Linked DNA regions of Homo sapiens: regions 2 and 3 are each linked to region 1. Evidence: promoter capture Hi-C in 16 types of primary human blood cells and fetal thymus (Javierre and others, 2016). All regions are on one chromosome and are shown on one strand. Each heading gives the region's core, a stretch centred on a gene start or on the middle of the fragment in contact. The rest is flanking DNA. Distances are from core to core; before and after follow the strand shown.

Region 1 (3,152 bases), core at 207-2,706:
GGGCATGGTGGTGCATGCCTGTAATCCCAGCTACTCTGGAGGGTGAGGCAGGAGAATCACCTGAACCTGGGAGGCAGAGGTCCCAGTGAGCCGAGATCGCACCACTACACTCCAGCCTGGGCGACAGAGCGAGACACCGTCTCAAAAACAAACAAACAAACAAACAAACAAGAAACAGAAGAGCCCCAGAACAATAAATGTTTTTCCTCACATAATAAAATACACGAATACATTAAAACTGCTTTTTCTTGTTTGCTTTTTCTAGTTTTTGTTTTACCTGTCCTCTGAGGCAGTTGGGCGAGTAACCGTCTGGAGGGGGTTGTGCAATTCATTAGAGTAAAAGGTGTTGGACAGTATGTCAGCTCCTTCAAGCTCCCTGCAACAGTAGGGCCTGCCGTGAATGACTTCCATGCTTCTTGGCTAAAAAGGCACAACCTGGAAAAGAAAAGGAGGGCACATTTGGCTTGTCGAGTCAAGGCAGGCAGAAAACACATTTTACACTGCTAAATTGTTCAACCTGACGCTGCACAGACGTCACAGGCTTCCCTCTGCACTGAAAGCCGTCAAATCAGTAATAAATAGAGACCTAAATAAGTTCTATGGAAATAAATTTCAACTGAAACAAATCCACAAAGTGGACGGTGCCTCCAAGTAGTCACCAGAATGATCATCCAGTAGGTTCGTACCAGTCCGCTACTTTGTGGCCATCAACTGACATTCAATTCCTGCCTTAAATTTAACTATAACTATTCAAGAAAACTCACTTGACTTTTAGCCTGTGGTCTTTCCGAAAATTAGAGACTCTTCATTCAACAAAATAAGCGCTGTCCTAAAGCCTTCGGGGATTCTGGACAAGAATCCCTTTGCAGATGGTGGAGTCAGTAGTGCAGCACGAACGGGACCCTAAAGGGGATTCCCGGTTTCCAACTGCGTCGGGGAGAATCCCACCTCTCTCTCGGACTTGGGGGAAGGCCAGGAGCCGGCGTAGCTGGGACCAAGGGTGCCAGGGGTCGAGGCCGAGCCTCACGGGCTGTCACTGCCCTGCAAGCGGTGCCTCGGGGGTCTGGACATACCTGGGACATGAGCCTGGGGGCGCTGCGGGACCGCGCCTCCCCTCCCCTCCCCGCAGCTGGCGGCCTTCGCGGGCCGAGGAATTTTGAGGTCGTCCGCACCTACGGCCCGGTGGAGCTGGCAGGCAGGGGCGGGGGCGGGAGAAGGACGGCGGGCAGGCCGGGGTGGGGTGGGGCTGGGGGCGCTTGTGACGGTGGCCGTGACCGCGGCATTAGGTGATGCGTCCTTGAGGGGCTGGGGGCTTCCGGGCGGCGAGCGGGGCGCAGTAGGAGGCTCTTAGAGACCTCGGAGGAAACCAGCCCAGCGCTACGGGACTGGCAAGAATGCGAAGAGGAACCGAGAGTGAACGGAGTGCGAGGCGCCGGGTCGGAGGCGAGAGGGGCTCTTCCGCCTTGCGACCCCTGGCCCCGCCTCCCGGTCCCTTGCCCCGCCCCTCTCGGCTCACCGCCCTGCCTCCAGTCGGACCCCGCCTTGCCCCACCCGCGCCCCGCCCCCAGGCGCCCTCTAGCGGCGGCGGCGATGGCGATACCAGTTTCTTTTTCCAGGGCTACCAGGTCTGGAGCTGTCTCAGGGCCGGCCAGGGAGCTCTCTCATGTGGACTGGGCGGAGGAGGAAGAGCTCCGGTCCAGTGGAGTCCCTGGTGAGGTCGGAGCATCCGACCTGTCCTCCCTCCCCAGGTCACCTCGCAAAAATTGGGGACAGTGTGGCCAGATAGAGGGTGGAGTCTGCAGGATTCTGAAACTGCAGCCCCTGGCATGGCGCCCTAACAGAGTCTCTGCTCCTTCCCTGGTGGGTGCGGACATGGCAAAGTCCTTTACTTGCCTCGTCCCCAGGGCCTAGCCCCACCTTGATTACCTCAGTTTTCCCCAAAAGATACAAATGTGAGCCATGAATCTGCACCTACAGGGTCATGAGTTCCTGTGATGGCTGACAATAAGGGATGTCACCCCCCCCTCGCCACCTGCCACCCCATCAAGGAATGGGATGTGAGGAGGTTAGGTTGTGTGTATATGTGTGATATGGTTAGGCTTTGTGTCCCCACTCAAATCTCATCTTGAATTGTAATACCCATAATCCCCGCTTGTCAAAGGAGAGACCAGGTGGAAGTAATTGGATCATGGGGGCAGTTTCCCCCATGCTGTTCTCGTAATAGCGAGTGAATTCTCACGAGATCTGATGGTTTTATAAGAGGCTCTTCTCCCTTCTCCCAGCACTTTTCCTTCCTGCCCCCTTGTGGAGAAGGTAACTGCTTCTCCGTGGCCTTCTGCCATGATTGTAAGTTTCCTGAGGCCTCCGCAGCCATGTGAGATTGTGAGTCAACTAAACCTCCTTCGTTTATAAATTACCCAGTCTTGGGCAGTTCTTTACAGCATTGTGAGAAAAGACTAATACAGTGTGGGAGGCTAGAAATGAGCCTGCAGGAACCAGAAGGTGAGGGTGAGAATGACCACCTCTGAGAAGAAGGGCGTTGAAACTGTGTGCCAAAGAGTTAAAGAAAACAGTCATAGAAATTCTTGAGTTTACAGGATGGCAGATAAAAGAAACAAATTGCTGAAATGCTGAAATGCCTGGGCTTGTAGGTTAATAAAACTGGCTGAAATCCACTGGAACATATAAGGCCAACTAGAGTCTGCACAGATCCAGCTTGCTGACCTTACAGCTGAATTTCTACTGCCATGTTTCATACTAACTCCTCACTGAATTTGCACGTGGAACCCTTAGGTAGCATGAAGAAATAAGAGCACATGCGCAAGGACTTTCCAGACTTCCTCTTTCCTTCCACCAAGCACCTGCTAATCCCAGAATCCACACTCAAAACCATTTCTAATAAAATAATTGTCCTAAAGCCAGCACAGGGAGACAGATTTGAGCTGGACTTCCTATTTCTTTGTTGGTTGACATGCAATAAAAGTTTTTATTTTATCAAAAACCCAGTGTTATAGTATTGACTTCTAGTGCCTCGGGCAGCGAGCCTCCTTTGCTTGGTAACAGTATGATGGTGCCTTTGCTATTCTCTGCCTACTTTACAACTTTCTACTAACCAACCAGTGGGCATTCATTTTGTGCTGTGCCTTCTATGT
Region 2 (3,152 bases), core at 382-2,881, 1.9 Mb before region 1:
ATCAGCTATCATTGGTATTAGTGTGTTGTATGTGTGGCCCAAGACAATTCTTCTTCCAATGTGGCCCTTAAAAGAGGTCTTCAACCTCTTTTAAGATTTTTTTTCCAAGGTATAAAATAAGGGAGCTGTACTTCTGATATTGTTACCTTGTTCCTAAAAGTAGTAGCAGCTGTAAGCGCCAAATAATAACATAGCCTGACAGAAATGGAGTGTCCTGGCTGGGCGCAGTGGCTCACACCTGTAATTCCAGCACTTTGGGAGGCCGAGGTGGGTGGATCATGCGGTCAGGATTTTGAGACCAGCCTGGCCAAGATGGTGAAACCCCGTTTCTACTAAAAATACAAAAATTAGCCAGGCATGGTGGCAGGTGCCTGCAATCCCACCCTCTCGGGAGGCGGAGGCAGGAGAATCACTTGAACCTGGGAGGCGGAGGTTGCAGTGAGCCGAGATCATGCCATGGCATTCCAGCCTGGGCGACAGAGCAGGACTCTTTCTTGAAAGGAAAGAAAGGAAAAGGAAAGAAAAAAAGGAAAAGGAAAGAAAAAAAGGAACAGGAAAGAAAGAAAAAGGAAAGAAAGGGAAAGAAAGGCGTGTCCTTGGAAGCCACTCACACCTCACTAGGACTCAGGCTTGGACCTTTTCCCAGGAAGCTAAGGCAGCCTCTTGATATTTTAATAAGGCTGAATATGGATCAGCCTGTAGTGTTCCTGAACTCATTAGCTACACTTCTCAGAATTTCTTTGCAGTTTGGATTTGTGAAACCACCAGGCAGATAGGAGAATTGATTGGCCACAACTGTTTGGGAATGAATGTCTATTGTCAGATGCTTTCCTGAAGTGTGACCAAAAAGTTTGGAGTAGTAAAGTCCAAGGCCAAAGTTCCAGCTTGACCTGCTCTGTGAGGTGTTCCCTCACCCCCCTAGGTGGAATTAATCACTCTGACCTGCCTTCCTAGAACTTGGGGCTCCCTACTGTGGTGGAAGTGTTCCTTCAAGGGACTTGCCCCCAAACCACAAGCTCCCCAAAACGCACTGGCAGAGGAGGCAGGCTTTGTTTCTTTTGCCCAGCCCTCTAGAGTTCAGCAGCCAGAGGTTCCCCTCACCCGTTAATCACAATGCCTCAAATCTCACAATAATTCCAAAATGGAGGAACCTCATAAAACTGGGATAAGAAAATGAAAAGCAGAAGTTTTACTGGATTGTCAGCAGAGCTGATCAAAAGAAATCGGAGGCCCTTTAGAAATCAGGTTTTGGCAGAAAGAAAACAACCCAAGGTCTGGTCTTATGACATAGTGGGGAGTGAGGCCGTGTCGCACCTGTGAATCAATACTTAATATCACAGTTCAGCTCTGGGGACAAAACACTTCACAGGCTGTGGTAGATATGGCAGTAAAAACCCATGGGCTTCTCCAGGGGTTGATACCGTCACTGTGGTATTCTCCTGGCCTGTAACATCACCTCACAGCACCTCCAAGTTGCATCCCTTTAGGGGTTTCCATTCCCCCCAAGTCCATTGTGAAAGGGGCCCCCTGAAGTTGGCTAATTTGGGGCCCTGTAGTCCACTCTCCTTACCTCTGCCTCAAGACCCAGGTCTGTTCAAATAGCACCTCCCTGCAGAGACTTTTCCAGCTCTGGGGGAGAATTGCTGCTGTGTACCACAGCAGGTGGGCTCTCCTCTTTCAAACACAATTACACGGTATTGATGACATTTAATCATCATCTCTCCTACTCTCTGGGAGCTCCCTGGGTACAGATACTATGTTTTGTTTTTTATTTATTTATTTATTTGTTTATTTTGAGACGGAGTTTTGCTCTTGTTGCCCAGGCTGGAATGCAATGGTGTGATCTCACCTCACTGCAACCTCCGCCTCCTGGGTTCAAGTGTTTCTCCTGCCTCAACCTCTTGAGTAGCTGGGATCACAGGCACCTGCCACCATGCCTGGCTAATTTTTTGTATTTTTAGTATTGGCCAGGCTGGTCTCGAACTCCTGACCTCAAGTGATCCACCCACCTCGGCCTCTGAAGGTGCTGGGATTATAGGCGTGAGCCACCACGCCCAGCTGAGACAATGTTTTATTCATCTTTCCTCTCTCTGGCCTTAGTCCAGCGCCTGGCACAGAATGTTCACTTGAACCTTGGTGAGGCTCCTTGGGAGGGTGAATCACAAGTCTACGCAGAGTGACCCACAACCTGCAAAGCCCACCTACCAACATCGGGGTGACAAGAGGGGACCCCAATACCAATTTCTGAGGCTGTGGGAAAAACAGTCTGGCTCTGTGACAGGGCCCAGTAATCCAAGGGGCCAATGTGAGTGTTCAGAGGCACAGCTTCAGAACAAACAACGGCTGTGAAAGCTGAGGAAACAATGCTGCAAGGGATGGGAGTCACAGCCTGCACTTTGGTTCCACAAATAGACTAGGCAAATGGTGGAGGAGCGGCCTCCTCACATGGGAACCTCCTATGGGAGAGGCTGCAAGCAGTGCTCTGGGACGCTTGCAAACCACAGGCTCGGTGCCCTGAGAAGCCAACAGCTCATCTCATCGCAGGCCTCGGTGCCCACCCCAGGCTGCTCTCCCTGCCCTTACAAGCCCGGAAGACATGCCTGGCAAACCCACACAGAACATCTGAGTGGGACAGACAATACGAACCCCACAGCCCCAGGGGAGTTTGGGGTGCAGAGAGCTAGTACCTTACTCCTAGGTTTATAAAATACAAAGTCCCTGTTTGTCTTCTCTTGAAAAGGATTTTGTCTTCCTTCCAATGAGGATATTTACAAAGTGGGGGACAAAATAATTTTAAAAATATAAATATACAAATCCATAGTATTTATAACATTATAAGAGAGGTCATTTTAATCCTGGCCCTTCCTTCTGCAAGGTCTCTGGAGGGCAGAACCAGTACAAAGGCAGTGGAAATCCAGGAAAAAGGATTAAGTTTACATGAGGTGGGAATATTCACCAACAGCTACAGCTGCCTGGTGGTGGAATGAGCTGTCCTATGATGATGGGAAGGGTAAGCTGAGGCTGCAGGGTGAGCAGTGATTCCAACATTTTAGTTATAATGAACTTTTGTCGTAAAATGTATGGCTCTTTAAATGTCTGTTATTGAGCTCGGCATGGTGCCTGTAATCCCAGTGCTTTGGGAGGCCAAGGCA
Region 3 (3,152 bases), core at 200-2,699, 1.6 Mb before region 1:
TTTTTTTTTAAGAAACAGAGTCTCACTCTGTCTCCCTGGCTGGAGTTCAGTGATGCAATCATAGATCATTGCAGCCTTGAACCCCTAGGCTCAAGTAGCTAGGACTACAGGTACACGCCACCATGCCCAGCTACTTTTTTTGTTTTGTTTTGTTTTGAAGAGACGGTGTTTCACTATGTTGCTCAGGCTGTCTCAAACTCCTGGCCTCAAGAGATCCTCCTGCCTTAGCCTCCCAAAGTGTCAAGATTATAAATGTAAGCCACTGTACTCTGCCTGGGATTTTCAAACATTAAGGCATGCCAAGTTTTCTGGGACTCCAACCAGCTATATTTGATGGCCCATTCTCATGCACACTTAAAAAACTGATGGGTTTATGAAACGTTACAACAGGTCTCACTTAATCCTTCATGGTCATTTCATTTATTCAGCTGGTTAAGCCTAGGTTCATGGCTCAAAACTATTAAGCAAACTGAGATTATCATTTTACTTTATATTTTTCCTTTTTTAAACTTTGTATCTGTTACTTGTTAAATTTTTGCAGAAGTATAGGTCTTAACAAAATAATGCTGGGCCAGCACTTTGAGATGACAGCCAAAGACTATAGACCTCAATAATAAACTCCAGGTAGACTTAGCCTGAGAGCCATTTTCTTCAAACCTCCCTTATTGCCCAAATATGGCTTAATGGTTTTTGACACTGACTCATCACCAATCACTCCCCACAATGAGGGAAGAAACCAGCAACCAGGACAGGTTCAACCTGGCCTCCAGGGACATCAGAATGTAACTACAAAATGACTGATCAGTGATGCATTCTGAGAAAGCTCTTGATCAAAAAAGGGAAATGTGAAAATTGTCAGAATCAAAATGGAGTCACTTGTGTTAAAAACAAAACACCCTGACAGAGCTGGGGAAGGCTAAGAAGGGAAGGCTTTCACATGTGTATACCTGATAACTAAACTATTGCAAAAGACTCTGCAAAAACCACAACCTTACATAAAGACCACTGCAACCTTACACAACAAGTACTTCTGTGTGGACATCTGCCCAGCAACTGCCTGTTGAACCTAGAACTGGAGTCACCCTTATTATTGATCCTTGTAGCCAAGCATAATAATTTCAAAGCAATTATTTAATCCTCCTCATTTTTTCTTTGTCTTCCTTTACCTCCCTGAATACACACAGAGTTTACTGTGGCATGTATATTCCCATTGCAATGCCCTATTCTTAAGTGAGTGTCTTTTTCTTTTAGAGGTCCTATTATTTAGGTTGACAGCTTTAAAATAAAGCTTGTTTTTGTTTTGTTTTGTTTTGTTTTTGAGGAAGAGGCTTGCTGTCGCCCAGGCTGGAGTGCAGTGGCACAATTATGGCTCACTGCAGACTCCACCTCCTGGGCTCAAAGTGATCCTCCTGCCCCCAGCCTCTTGAGTAGCAGGGACTATAGGTGCATGCCACCACAACTGGCTGACTTTGGTATTTTTTTGGGGGGTACAGATGGGGTTTTGCCATGTTGCCCAGGCTGGTCTTGAACTCCAGGCTCAAGCAATCCACTTGCCTCAGCCTCCCGAAGTGCTGAGATCATAGGCATGGGCCACCGTGCCTAGTCTATAATAAAGCTTGTTATCCGGTAGCACAAGTTTTCCTCCTCCCACTCCTTCTCCTCTTCTTTTTTTTTCTTCCTCCTCTTCCTCATGAATGCTTGTCTTTGCTCTTCCATAACATTTTGAATTAGCTTGTCAAGTTTCTCACACATACACAGAAATTTATTGAGATTTTGTTGGGAATTGCACTGGCTCTGTAGGTAGGTTTGGAGAGACTTGGCATTTTTCAGTATTGACTCTTCCAATTTATGAACATGTTACATCTTTATTTAGGTCTTCTTCAGTGTCTTCCAATGTTTTCTTCAGGCAGGTTTTGCATTTCTTTGATCGATTTATTCCTAGGTACTTGATATTTGTTTGGAGCTGTTGGAAATGGTATCTTTAAAAAAATTATCTTTTTTACTAGCATATATAAATAAATATTGATTTTTTAAAATATGATTTTTGTATCTATTAACCTTGTTAAAAACTTTTATTGTTAACAGTTTATCTGCAGATTGTTTTGAAGTGCCACAAACAATTTTTTTTTTTTTTTGAGACGGAGTTCTGCTCTTGTTGCCCAGGCTGGAGTGCAGTGGCGCGATATCAGCTCACTGCAACCTCCGCCTCCTGGGTTCAAGCAATTCTCCCGCCTCAGCTCCCCGAGAGGCTGGAATTACAGGCGTCCGCCACCTCGCCCTGCTAAGTTCGTATCTGTAGTAGAGACGGGGTTTCACCATGTTGGCCAGGCTGGTCTCGAATTCCCGACCTCAGGTGATCCTCCCGTCTTGGCCTCACAAACTGCTGGGATTACAGGCATGAGCCAACGGCGCCCGGCCTCCACGTACATAATTACATAATCTATGAAAAAATAATTTTGTTTCTTCCTATTTAATCTTCAATCCTTTTATTTTTCTTGCCTCACTCCACTGGCTAAGGACCTTTGGCTTCAATAATGGGTAGTCTCATCTGTAGCACACTTAATCATCACTAAGCTTTCCCAGCCTCAGGTCAATAGTATTAGGAGGTTGGTTCCTCACCGGAGGGTCGGGAACAAGACGCCAGAGCCCTTCTTCCAGCGCCTGCAGCGAGTTAAGGCCGAGGGTATGCCTCTGGCGGGCTCATCTTCCAACACAGAAGACCCCGCCGCCCTCTCTGGTTGCCGCGCAGCTGCGTCGTTCTGACCCAGGGTAGGTGCAGGGCGGCTGGAAGCACGTGCCGCCGCTTCCTCATTCTGGGACTACATCCCCCACAATGCCGCGCGCCGCGGGCGGCTGGCCCCCGAGTGCGGGAAGGGCCGGCAGGGAGGCGGAGCGGAAGCCGAGTGCGAGGGACGAGCGGAGTAAAATCTCCACAAGCTGGGAACAAACCTCGTCCCAACTCCCACCCACCGGCGTTTCTCCAGCTCGATCTGGAGGCTGCTTCGCCAGTGTGGGACGCAGCTGACGCCCGCTTATTAGCTCTCGCTGCGTCGCCCCGGCTCAGAAGCTCCGTGGCGGCGGCGACCGTGACGAGAAGCCCACGGCCAGGTAATGAGTAAGGGGCGAGTCCGCCAGCCGGGCCCGCACCTCTC

The links. Contacts are between HindIII fragments. The CHiCAGO score rates a contact against its expected background, and 5 or more counts as called.
Region 2: a fragment that was not itself captured here is called in contact with the fragment with the promoter of SPMIP4 in region 1 in 1 of 17 cell types (neutrophils); the score reaches 6.3 in neutrophils.
Region 3: a fragment that was not itself captured here is called in contact with the fragment with the promoter of SPMIP4 in region 1 in 2 of 17 cell types (monocytes and total CD8 T cells); the score reaches 7.0 in monocytes.

What each region holds. Positions count from the first base shown.
Region 1 is chr7:25,178,898-25,182,049 of GRCh38, forward strand. It overlaps SPMIP4 (sperm microtubule inner protein 4), which reads right to left and starts at 1,457. Exons shown (of 10, transcript NM_138811.4): 1 at 765-1,457; 2 at 278-435. The coding sequence starts at 411. The region is part of intron 1 of LOC124901603 (a long non-coding RNA gene); the gene reads left to right. RefSeq lists silencers at 963-1,242, 1,303-1,692. The HindIII fragment of the contact is 8,567 bases long and covers 1-3,152 here.
Region 2 is chr7:23,291,508-23,294,659 of GRCh38, forward strand. No RefSeq gene overlaps it. Among named protein-coding and RNA genes, the nearest start is that of MALSU1, 6.3 kb to the right of the region's middle. The HindIII fragment of the contact is 4,012 bases long and covers 1-3,152 here.
Region 3 is chr7:23,594,498-23,597,649 of GRCh38, forward strand. LOC105375187 (a long non-coding RNA gene) reads right to left here and starts at 2,828. Exons shown (of 2, transcript XR_927098.2): 1 at 2,620-2,828. CCDC126 (coiled-coil domain containing 126) reads left to right here and starts at 2,885. Exons shown (of 4, transcript NM_138771.4): 1 at 2,885-3,108. RefSeq lists a silencer at 3,127-3,152. The HindIII fragment of the contact is 327 bases long and covers 1,287-1,613 here.